Regions from separate parts of the Homo sapiens genome. Here all the other regions are linked to region 1. Evidence: promoter capture Hi-C in 16 types of primary human blood cells and fetal thymus (Javierre and others, 2016). All regions are on one chromosome and are shown on one strand. The core of a region is centred on a gene start or on the middle of the fragment in contact, and the rest is flanking DNA. Distances in the headings are between cores, read along the strand shown. Region 1 holds the start of ZNF207 (zinc finger protein 207). Region 2 has its middle 3.1 kb from the start of RHOT1. Region 3 overlaps RHOT1 (ras homolog family member T1). Region 4 overlaps RHOT1 (ras homolog family member T1).

Region 1 (2,514 bases), core at 7-2,506:
TGTCACCCAGGCTGGAATGCAATGGCGAGATCTCGGCTCACTGCAACCTTCACCTCCCAGGTCCAAGTGATTCTCCTGCCTCATTCTCCCGAGTAGCTGAGGTTACAGGCGCCTGCCACTACGCCTGGCTAATTTTTGTATTTTTAGTAGAGACAGGGTTTCACCATGTCGGCCAGGCTGGTCTCGAACTCCTGACCTCAAGTGATCCGCCTGCCTCGGCCTTGGCCCATAGTGTTGGGATTACTGGCGTGAGCAACCGCGCCCGGCTATCAGCTCCAGTCTTACCACGATTAGTTTTTCACGTGCCCAGCCTCAAAGACTTAAACTCTTTGCTCCCTTACGGAGATACCCTTTCCTTCACCTTGCTTGCTCCCGTTGACTCCTCAAGAAACCTTTCTTATGTCGGGCGCAGCGGCTCAAGCCTGCAATCCAGCACTTTGGGAGGCCGAGGCGGGCGGATCACTTGAGCCCAGGAGTTCGAGACCAGCCTCGCTAACATGGTGAAACCCCATTCTACTAAAAATACAAAAATTAGCCGGGCTTGGTGGCGCGGGCCTGCAGTCCCAGCTACTCGGGAGGCTGAGGTAGGAGAATCGCTTGAACCCGGGAGACGGAGGTTGCAGTGAGCAGAGATCGCGCCGCTGCACTCCAGCCTGGGAGACAGAGCGAGACTTGGTCTCAGAAAAATAAAACAAAACAAAGAAAAACAAAACTTTACTTGACAACCCAACGACCACTACCACTACAGCCGCCCTAGGACTCCCGCTCTCTGAGGTCCTACAGCACTTCGCATTTCCCTCAACGCCGCACTGAGAACTCTGCATTGTGTACTCGTCTGTCACCAATCTGCGAGTTACAAAGCAGAGACTAACTTATTTGGTTTAGCATTTAATAGGCACATAATCAACATTTACTGTTCAATTGAAACAAAATTAAAATTGGGCGCTGTCTCTATCTTTATTTGTGATCGGCCCTAACTGCACTGGCAATCTTTTCCGTTTTTTTGTTTTCTGTTTTCCATTCGCATGCCCCTTAGCGTACCTGGGGCTCCGGCTCCTTTACAAATGAAACCCAAAGTGCTCCGCAAGCACAGCCAGCGAAAGCGAAAAACTCTGAAACGGACAAGATGGCTGCCACCTCTTCGCGCCTCTTAGTCCCACCCACTCAGGGCGGAGGTCTGCGTCATGTGACCCTCCCCTTCTTGGCTCCGCCTCCTACCGCAGTGCTTGACGGGAGGCGGAGCGGGGAACGAGGCCGTCGGCCATTTTGTGTCTGCTTCCTGTGGGACGTGGTGGTAGCCGTTGGGTTGGGAAAGTGAGGGATTTTTGGCCTCGTTTCTCCTGCTTCTTTTCTCCTCCCTTTTACTTTGCCGGTAGAACACAGTTATGGGTCGCAAGAAGAAGAAGCAGCTGAAGCCGTGGTGCTGGTATCCTTTGTCGGTTTGAAGTCGAGGTCGCGTTGGGGTGCCGGTTGTTGGGGCCTGGGACTAGGAGGCCTGGATTTGGCTTACGGCGTGGAGCGTTTGTATTTAGGCGTCTGCGTGGGTGGCCTGGTGGCTGGGATTGGACTTGGGAAGGCTTCTAGGAAAATGGGGTTCCGAGGTCGACAGGCTTTTGCAGTTGTGGGTCGTGTGACTCTGTGACTCAGGAGGATCTTGTTCGGTGCGAATTTTGGACTCCGGGAGGCGGCCTGGACCCCTCCGCCAGGGACAGTGTCCCCTAGGGACTATTCAGCCACCTTCCGTTGTTTTGGTGACGATTCAACAAGGGACTTTTCTTCGAGTGCGATAGGCTTATTACTTTCATGGAGGGTTGGGGACAGCTTCACAGTCTGTCACCCACTTTTTCTGTTTTTATTTACTTTATGTGTGTTTTGTGTTTATTTTTTCGAATTGGCGGTTTAGTAAAGAACCAAGTTAGTCAACCCTGGTTTCGAACCTTTTTTTTTTTTTTTTTCTTTTCGGGGCGGGAGGAGAACTAGCTTCCGTGTCTCACCCAGAGGCGCCTTAATCTTCAGGAAGCGTTCTCACAGGGCGGAGTTTCTGTTACCCAACTTTGTAGGACTAAAAAGTGCCTATCTTATTAGGAAAACTCTTACTACAGTGTGGTATTAATGCTTTTTCTGGAAGCGTTAATATTCTTTACATTAAAATTGATTTTATTTACTGTTTTGTACGTAAAGGCGGCTTGTTACAGTACTGCGTTTATGTAACAGTTTTAAAAATAGCTTAAATACGGTTACGAATTTTGTAATGTGATTTTAGGAAAATCTGAGTAGTGAGGTAAGAATTCTGTTTTATTGATGTAAGAATTCTGCTTTATTGATTTTATTGATCTGTGAATTTAAATACATTGCTTGGCAACATAAATTCATACGGAATTGGAAACAACTTTATGGATTGTTCATTCGAAATTATGTGATTATTGTTCACCATATAGTTACTCTTAGATTCTAAATATTGCTAAATTCCTAATCCAGTTATTGCTATCGTCTTCATATCTAGTGAAGTAATTG
Region 2 (2,514 bases), core at 15-2,514, 210 kb before region 1:
GGTGGTCTCGAACTCCTGACCTCAGGGATCCACCCACCTCATCCTCCCAAGTGCTGGGATTACAGGCGTGAGCCACTGTGCCCAGCCTTTCCTATTATATTAACTAATTTAATTTTCATAACAATCTCATGAGGTATGTCCTATTGTTATTCCCATTTGGCAGATGAGGCAAAGAGAAGTTAAATAATCTGTCCAGTGATGCACAGCTAGTAATTGGCACAACTGATGTTCAGATCTAGCAGGCAGACTCCAGCATCCTTAGTCTTTGTTGTTGTTGTTGTTTAAGAGACGGGGTCTTACTCTGTGGCCCAGACTGGAGTGCAGTGGTACAATCACAGCTCACTGCAGCCTCAACCTCCTAGGCTCAAGCAATCTTCCCACGTAGCTGGGACTACAGGTGTGCACCACCACGTCCAATTAATTCTTTAATTTTTTTTGTTTTCTTTTTTTTGGAGACAGAGTCTCGCTTAATCCCCCAGGCTGGAGTGCAGTGATGCGATCTCGGCTCACTGAAACCTCCGCCTCCCGCGTTCAAGAGATTCTCATGCTTCAGCCTCACAAATAGCTGGGATTACAGGCGCCTGCCACCACACCCGGCTAAGTTTTGTATTTTTAGTGAAGACAGGATTTTGCCATGTTGGCCAGGCTGGTCTCAAACTCCTGGCCTCAGGTGATCTGCCCACCTTGGCCTCCCAAAGTGTTGGGATTACAGGCGTGAGCCACGGCGGCTTAATTCTTTAAAATTTTTTGTAGAGACAGGGTCTCCTTGTGTTATTCAGGCAGGTCTCGAACTCCTGGGCTCAAGCAATCCTCTCATCCCCAGCCAAGCTTCCCTGCTTTAACCAGCGACCTGTGCTGTCTCCAGGAGAACATCAGAGTGACACCTAGTGGACGTTTGTTAACATCATAAGGAGGGAATAAAGTTCAAGGCAAGTCAGGGAGCCAGACTGGCAGAAGTATAGATGATCAGGAGATGGCTGCGGACTGTAGAAAGAAACTTACATTGCAGGGGAGGCAAACCCTGGCATACCAGACTCCCTCTCCCCAACTTTAGCAAGTGCTGGCCTCAGTTTGTACCAAACCATATCCATTGCTCACTGAAAGTGCTTGATATTGCCTCTTTTCTGCAGCTCTTGAGTTAGGTTTTTTTTTTTTAGATGGAGTCTCACTCTGTCACCCAGGCTCGAGTGCAGTGGTGCGATCTCAGCTCACTACAACCTCCACCTCCTGGGTTCAAGCGATTCTCCTGCCTCAGCCTCCCGAATAGCTGGGATTACAGGCATGCACCACCACGCCCAGCTAACTTTTGTATTTTTAGTAGAGACAGGGTTTCACCATGTTGGCCAGGCTGGTCTCAAACTCCTGAGCTCAAGTGATCCACCCGCCTCGGCCTCCCAAGGTGCTAGGATTACAGGTGTGAGCTATTGTGCCCGGCCTAGTCAGATTTTTATTTTTTTTTATTTAGAGACAGACTCTGGCTCTGTCACCCAGACTTGAGTGCAATGGTGCCATCATAGCTCACTGCAGCCTCCAACTCCTGGTCTCCAGTGATCCTCCCACCTCAGCCTCCCAACTGGGACTACAGGTGCATGCCACCACGCCCAGCTAATTTGTTTATTTTTTGTAGAGATGGGGTTTCAATGTTTCTCAGGCTGGTCTTGCACTCCTGGCCTCAAGAGATCCTCCCACCGCAGCTACCCCAAGCTTTGGGATTATAGGTGTTGAACCACCATACCTGGCTGGATATGGATTTTTAAGTAAGTTTTATTTACAAAGGAGTTCTTTGCAATATTGTATCTGTGATGTCCCTCTAAATAAATGCTTTTTCCAAGCCCCTGCCTACCAGACATTACCCAGTACACATCTACAACCCCACGAAGACCTTGTTACTGCTCACCCTCCTGGAGAAGCCCCAATGAGTCAACATTGTCATTAACTGGCAACGCTGATTGAGAGCTCTTAGGGATCTAGATTCTTCACAAAGCTGCATGGTGCAAGCAGTGCCCTAAAGAATTTGCCCCTCTGTAAAAGGCTTTTGTCCTCTGTGCTCTGATATTTGTGTAACTTGTTTTTTGTTTGTTTGTTTTTTAGGAAAAAGATTTACAATTCATTACATTATTCACATAAAATACATTATTTTATGAGCTCCTCCAAACAATTTCATAAGAGATCACAGCCTTCACTTGGTAGAGAGGAAACTGAGGCACAACTAGGTGACATGAGTTGCCTAGAGTCATGCACTAGGAATGGCAGAGCAAAGCTCAGCCTCAGCCATGCCGTCTGTGCCAGGTCATTGCGTCTCTGTGGGCCTTGCTTTTTTTTTTTTATCTACAGAGTAACGGGATTGGAATAGGAGCTCTGTCAGGGTTCTTCCAACTCAAACATTTTGTAACACTAAAATTCTGAGGGCTACTTTTCCCTGAAAGATCAGGTAACCAAGCCTCCTGAATTTCACATTTCCACTCATTGAGGTGTGGGGGGAGGAGGGAGATGAAAGCACCTTATTTACATCTA
Region 3 (2,514 bases), core at 9-2,508, 170 kb before region 1:
TTTTTTACTTACCTTTTTAAAGGTTGCTACTAAAAAATTGAAAACTATGTATGTGGCTTGCATTATCTGTATGTTGGACAGCACTGTACTGAAAGCTGAGGGAGGTGAATGACTTCTGCTACAATCAGTCTCATAACTAGATTTATTTACAGAATTATTCTTCAATATGTGTAGCCATATAATTAGATTCACCTCAGTATTAGAATTGAAGCCTTAACCCATTGATTACTTAACATATGGAAAGATATTAAAAATATGGCCTGTTATTTAGCATAGTATAAAATACCATTGAATTCATGTATGATATTAGTTTATATGTCAGAAGTAACAGGCATTTTTAGGGGAAGATATATGTAACCTAAGGTGGTCTAAATCAGTATGCCAGTAATTGCTTTGCTCTTCAATTATTTGCTTTCTATCCTAGCTATATCATTCATATCCCTGCATGCGTGGAATTGCAGGCACACCCACCCATTGAGACCAGTTCTAGCTAAAGATACATGCTAGAGAGGGAATTCTCATCACTTCATTATCAAGCTACAGTTTTGCCTCTGGGTCTTGGTTATTATTACTCCCACCTGCTATCTAGATCTTAAGCTTGTATTACCCAGAATCTCACCTGCCTTTTGATCCTGTGTGTATAGACTCTTTGTCCGAGCTTCTGACTCTTCAGCACCCAGTCTGCTAGCTTGGATTTCTGAAGTCCTTTGCCTGACCCTTTTCAACTCTGGACCAGATGCTGGCCTAGATTTATTACACAATGCTTCTGCTGTTCCATGCCTGAGTTATCCTTTTATAGACTCGTCTTTCAGGGCCAGCTGCCTTATCGTAGTTGAACCTTTTCCTTCCCCTGGCTTTCCCTTGTGTTTGCTACACCATGTCATTTTGAGGGATGTTAGATGAGTGTTGCATAGAATTTAGCTTGGCCATTAGTTTTTATGAAAGTGTCTGCAATATGAAACATTGACTTCCTGTCATTTGTAGAAGCAGAACAGAGTGATGAACAACTTCATCAAGAAATATCTCAGGTGAGCTTTAAAAAACAGAGGTGTGGGGTTTTGTGTAGAAAAACAGTGATGATTTTATGAGCCTGCCTTTTTCATTCTCTTTGTTTGTTGGTTTTTGTGTTTTTTTTGGGACCGTGTTTCACTCTGTCACCCACTCTGTCACCCAGTGCAGTGGCGCAATTTTGCCTTATCGCAACCTCCATCTCGCAGGCTCAAGCGATTCTCATGCCTCAGCCTCCCAAGTAGCTGGGATTACAGGCATGCACCACCATGCCCAGCTAATTTTTGTATTTTAGTAGAGATGGGGTTTTGCCATGTTAACCAGGCTAGTCTCAAACTCCTGCCCTCAAGTGATACACCCCGTCCCTTTTTCATTCTCTTAATTACCAAAAGTTCTTTTGCAGTTCTTTATTGTTATGGCTGTTACTGAGTATGTGTTTTTGCTTTAAGTCCTTAGGAACATTTTCTCTTAGAGGCAAGCTAATTCTTTTTTTGTTTTTTTGTTTTAGCTGTTAAATTTTTTCTTCCTTTCACCCGAATATATTAATAAGTTGCTAATTAAGTGCTGTCTATGTTTTTATTATTTTTAGATACGATTAATTTGTTAATTTTTCTTCTAGGCTAATGTCATCTGTATAGTGTATGCCGTTAACAACAAGCATTCTATTGATAAGGTAGGTGTGATCTTTTTTTCCCTATAGTTGGTTTCAGTGGAGTGCTTCCAAAGTTGATTCTCAGTTTAGAATTTTAGGGGTCTAAGGGAAGAGTGTTTTGTAAAGATCCTTATCATGGCTAAGCGCTTGTTAATTTTCATTTTAGGTAACAAGTCGATGGATTCCTCTCATAAATGAAAGAACAGACAAAGACAGCAGGTATTTTTTCCTCTCTCAAACTTTTTATAATTAAAAAGTTTAAAGCTTGCAGAAAAGGTACAAGAAGTAGTACATTGAACTTCCCTAAATCCTTCACTTAAATTTACTAGGTAACGTTTTGCCACGTTTGCCTTATCTATCAGTTTTTCTGTCTGTTCATACACACACCCACGTGCCTTTTTTGGGGGGATTCATTTGAGGCAGTAGATATACTTGAGAGCAAAGCAAGAAACAGAACTCTGATATCATGATTCACAACTTCAGACAGATTATTTTGGTCATAAATCTTACATTTCTCTTCCTCAAACTGCTGCTTGAAAAGTCTCAGTTTTATTTATTTATTTATTTATTTATTTATTTATTTATTTATTTATTTTGAGACAGAGTCTTGCTCTGTCGCCCAGGCTGGAGTATAGGAGCACAATCTTGGCTCCTTGCAGCCTCCGCCTCCTGGATTCAAGTGATTCTCATGCCTCAGTCTCCTGAGTAACTGGGACTGCAGGCATGTACCACCATGCCTGGCTAATTTTCGTATTTTTTAGTAGAGAGGGTTTCGCACGTTGGTCAGTCTGGTCTCGAACTCATGACCTCAAATGATCTGCTCGCCTTGGCCTCCCAAAGTGCTGGGACTACAG
Region 4 (2,514 bases), core at 7-2,506, 160 kb before region 1:
CTCGCTCTGTCACCCAGGCTGTAGTGCAATGGCGCCATCTCGGCTCACTGCAACCTCCGCTGCCCGGGTTCAAGCGATTCTCCTGCCTCAGCCTCCCAAGTAGCTAGGACTACAGGCATGCGCCACAACACCCAGCTAATTTTTGTATTTTTAGTAGAGACGGGGTTTCACCATGTTGGCCAGGGTGGACTCGATCTCCTCGTGATCCGCCTGCCTCAGCCTCCCAAAGTGCTGGGATTACAGGCGTGAGCCACTGCACCCAGCCCATGTTTTACTTAAATAATACATTTAAAAAAGTGGTGACTATTCCTAATGTAGAATATGTTTCTTTGGTTGCAATTCATGGATTTAATATTGCTTTGTAGATTATCATTTTATATTATTTGTGGTTTTAACGCTGGTTTGTTTTTAAATATATTTTTATGTTTTTTGCTAGAGGATTTGTTTCAACACTCCATTAGCTCCTCAAGCTCTGGAGGATGTCAAGAATGTAGTCAGAAAACATATAAGTGATGGTGTGGCTGACAGTGGGTTGACCCTGAAAGGTGGGTAAATGGTATTTTTCCCCCTTTTGAAACTTAATATTTTCAAAATTTGGCAGAAGGTGAAGGTCTTTATTGCATTATTTATACTTTAAGGAAATGTTAATATTTACTAGTATGCCTAAAGTCTGATTTGGATATTTATGAGTTGGGAGGGACAGGCCATTGTTGGGGATTATCATCTTTACTACCAATATAAATTAGAGGTAGGGAAATTGGTTGGATCTCAAGGATACAGAGGTCCACCTGATGGAAGGAGATATCTGGAACAAAAAAAAAGTATCTTAAAATTCTTCCTACTCATAAACAGCCTTTAAATAGTCATTATTTTTAGGGAATTTTGTCTATGAGTCAAATTTACCAGTATAGAATGTTCCCTGGAGAATATATTATAGAGGCACAGTGAAGTTAATGAGATTGAAAACCAGAATTTTCCATGACAAAAATAAGCTCAAAGATCTGTAGAACACTACTCTCATATAACTTTGTGCATGTCAGTATATTCCTTGAGATGCAATGTTGGCCATTTCCTCTAGTGCTCTCTCTTGCTGAGCTGGGTGTATATGTGAAACAATTCTGAAATCAGCTCTGTTTCATTGAGATACTTGTGAATTTTGTTTTGTTTTGAGCTTTACAATGCAAAGCTAGCATCCGTATGTTCATGAATCTGGTTCTTGCCATTATGTTACATGCTTTTCTCCTATGTGACTCTGTACACTTTATTTACTAATTTACTTTATTTCAGGTTTTCTCTTTTTACACACACTTTTTATCCAGAGAGGGAGACACGAAACTACTTGGACTGTGCTTCGACGATTTGGTTATGATGATGACCTGGATTTGACACCTGAATATTTGTTCCCCCTGTATGTACCTTTGTTTTTTTTGTTGTTGTTGTTGTTTAATTTTTTATTGAGACAGGATCTCACTATGTTTCCCAGGCTGGTCTTGAACTCCTGAGTCAAGTGATCCTCCCACCTTGGCCTCCCAAATTGCTGTGATTAAAGGCATTGAGCCATGCCCAGTCACCTTTGGTTTTGTAATGATTTTACTTGTTAAATATTTTTAAGGTTGATTTAGCACACATGGGGAGGTGGGCTTCAAGCTAATTGGGAATATTTTAGAATTATAGCAGAGCTTTATAGCAGGATTTCTCAACCTCAGCACTATTGGCATTTTGGACCAGAAAATTTTTTGTTGTGGATGTCCTGTGCAGTATAGGATCTTTACCACATCCGTAGATGTCAGTGACACTTCCAGTTGTGACAACCAAAACTGTTGAGAAATTGCCGAATGTACCCTCTGAAGTGAAATTATCCCCAGTTGAGAACCACTGATTCCCTCATGGCTCAAACTTTTCCTCTTCTTGTCGAGACTACAAGTATCTTTTTTTGTTCATTTTACTGAGGAAGGAAAAATAAGATGCTAGACAACAAACTTGTTTTGGGAGTCAAGAGATCTCAGAAATATGTTGATTCACATTTTTCTTACATTGTTCTTCTCCCTCAGTTTTATAGCCTGTTCTTAGCTTAAGTTGAAGTAGGTATTTTCCTAAACGACTGGTCTATTTGTGGTTCTTTTTCTTTCTTTTTTTTTTTTTTTTTTCAGACGGAGTCTCGCTCTGTCACCCAGGCTGGAGTGCAGTGTCACGATCTTGGCTCACTGCAACCTCCCACCGCGTTTAAGCGATTCTTCTGTCTCAGCTTCCCAAGTAGCTGGGAATACAGGCGCCCGCCACCATGCCCGGCTAATTTTTTGTATATTTAGTAGAGAAGGGGTTTCACCGTGTTAACCAGAATGGTCTCGATCTCCTGACCTCGTGATCCACCCGCCTCAGCCTCCCAAAGTGCTGGGATTACAGGCGTGAGCCACTGCACCCGGCCTTTTTTTTTTTTCCCTAAGAGACAAGGTCTCATTTTGGCTAGCTCACTGCAACCTCAAACTCCATGGCTCAAGCAATCCTCCCACCTGA

The links. The method cuts DNA at HindIII sites, captures the fragments that hold promoters and counts their contacts. A CHiCAGO score of 5 or more calls a contact.
Region 2: a fragment that was not itself captured here is called in contact with the fragment with the promoter of ZNF207 in region 1 in 1 of 17 cell types (erythroblasts); the score reaches 6.5 in erythroblasts.
Region 3: a fragment that was not itself captured here is called in contact with the fragment with the promoter of ZNF207 in region 1 in 4 of 17 cell types (M1 macrophages, M0 macrophages, monocytes and 1 more); the score reaches 6.8 in M1 macrophages.
Region 4: a contact is called between a fragment that was not itself captured here and the fragment with the promoter of ZNF207 in region 1, in 4 of 17 cell types (M1 macrophages, M2 macrophages, monocytes and 1 more). The highest score is 7.9, in M1 macrophages.

Annotation. Positions count from the first base shown.
Region 1 is chr17:32,348,901-32,351,414 of GRCh38, forward strand. ZNF207 (zinc finger protein 207) reads left to right here and starts at 1,257. Exons shown (of 12, transcript NM_001098507.2): 1 at 1,257-1,426. The coding sequence starts at 1,386. It overlaps MIR632 (microRNA 632), which reads left to right and starts at 1,209; the gene lies at 1,209-1,302. It also overlaps a transcript of C17orf75 not described here. RefSeq lists enhancers at 707-826, 997-1,346. The HindIII fragment of the contact is 13,651 bases long and covers 1-2,514 here.
Region 2 is chr17:32,138,184-32,140,697 of GRCh38, forward strand. No RefSeq gene overlaps it. Among named protein-coding and RNA genes, the nearest start is that of RHOT1, 3.1 kb to the right of the region's middle. The HindIII fragment of the contact is 876 bases long and covers 827-1,702 here.
Region 3 is chr17:32,174,335-32,176,848 of GRCh38, forward strand. RHOT1 (ras homolog family member T1) reads left to right here. Exons shown (of 20, transcript NM_001033566.3): 4 at 985-1,028; 5 at 1,628-1,681; 6 at 1,827-1,879. Among named protein-coding and RNA genes, the nearest start is that of RHOT1, 33 kb to the left of the region's middle. The HindIII fragment of the contact is 1,327 bases long and covers 596-1,922 here.
Region 4 is chr17:32,192,700-32,195,213 of GRCh38, forward strand. It overlaps RHOT1 (ras homolog family member T1), which reads left to right. Exons shown (of 20, transcript NM_001033566.3): 10 at 437-545; 11 at 1,288-1,408. Among named protein-coding and RNA genes, the nearest start is that of RHOT1, 51 kb to the left of the region's middle. The HindIII fragment of the contact is 5,090 bases long and covers 1-2,514 here.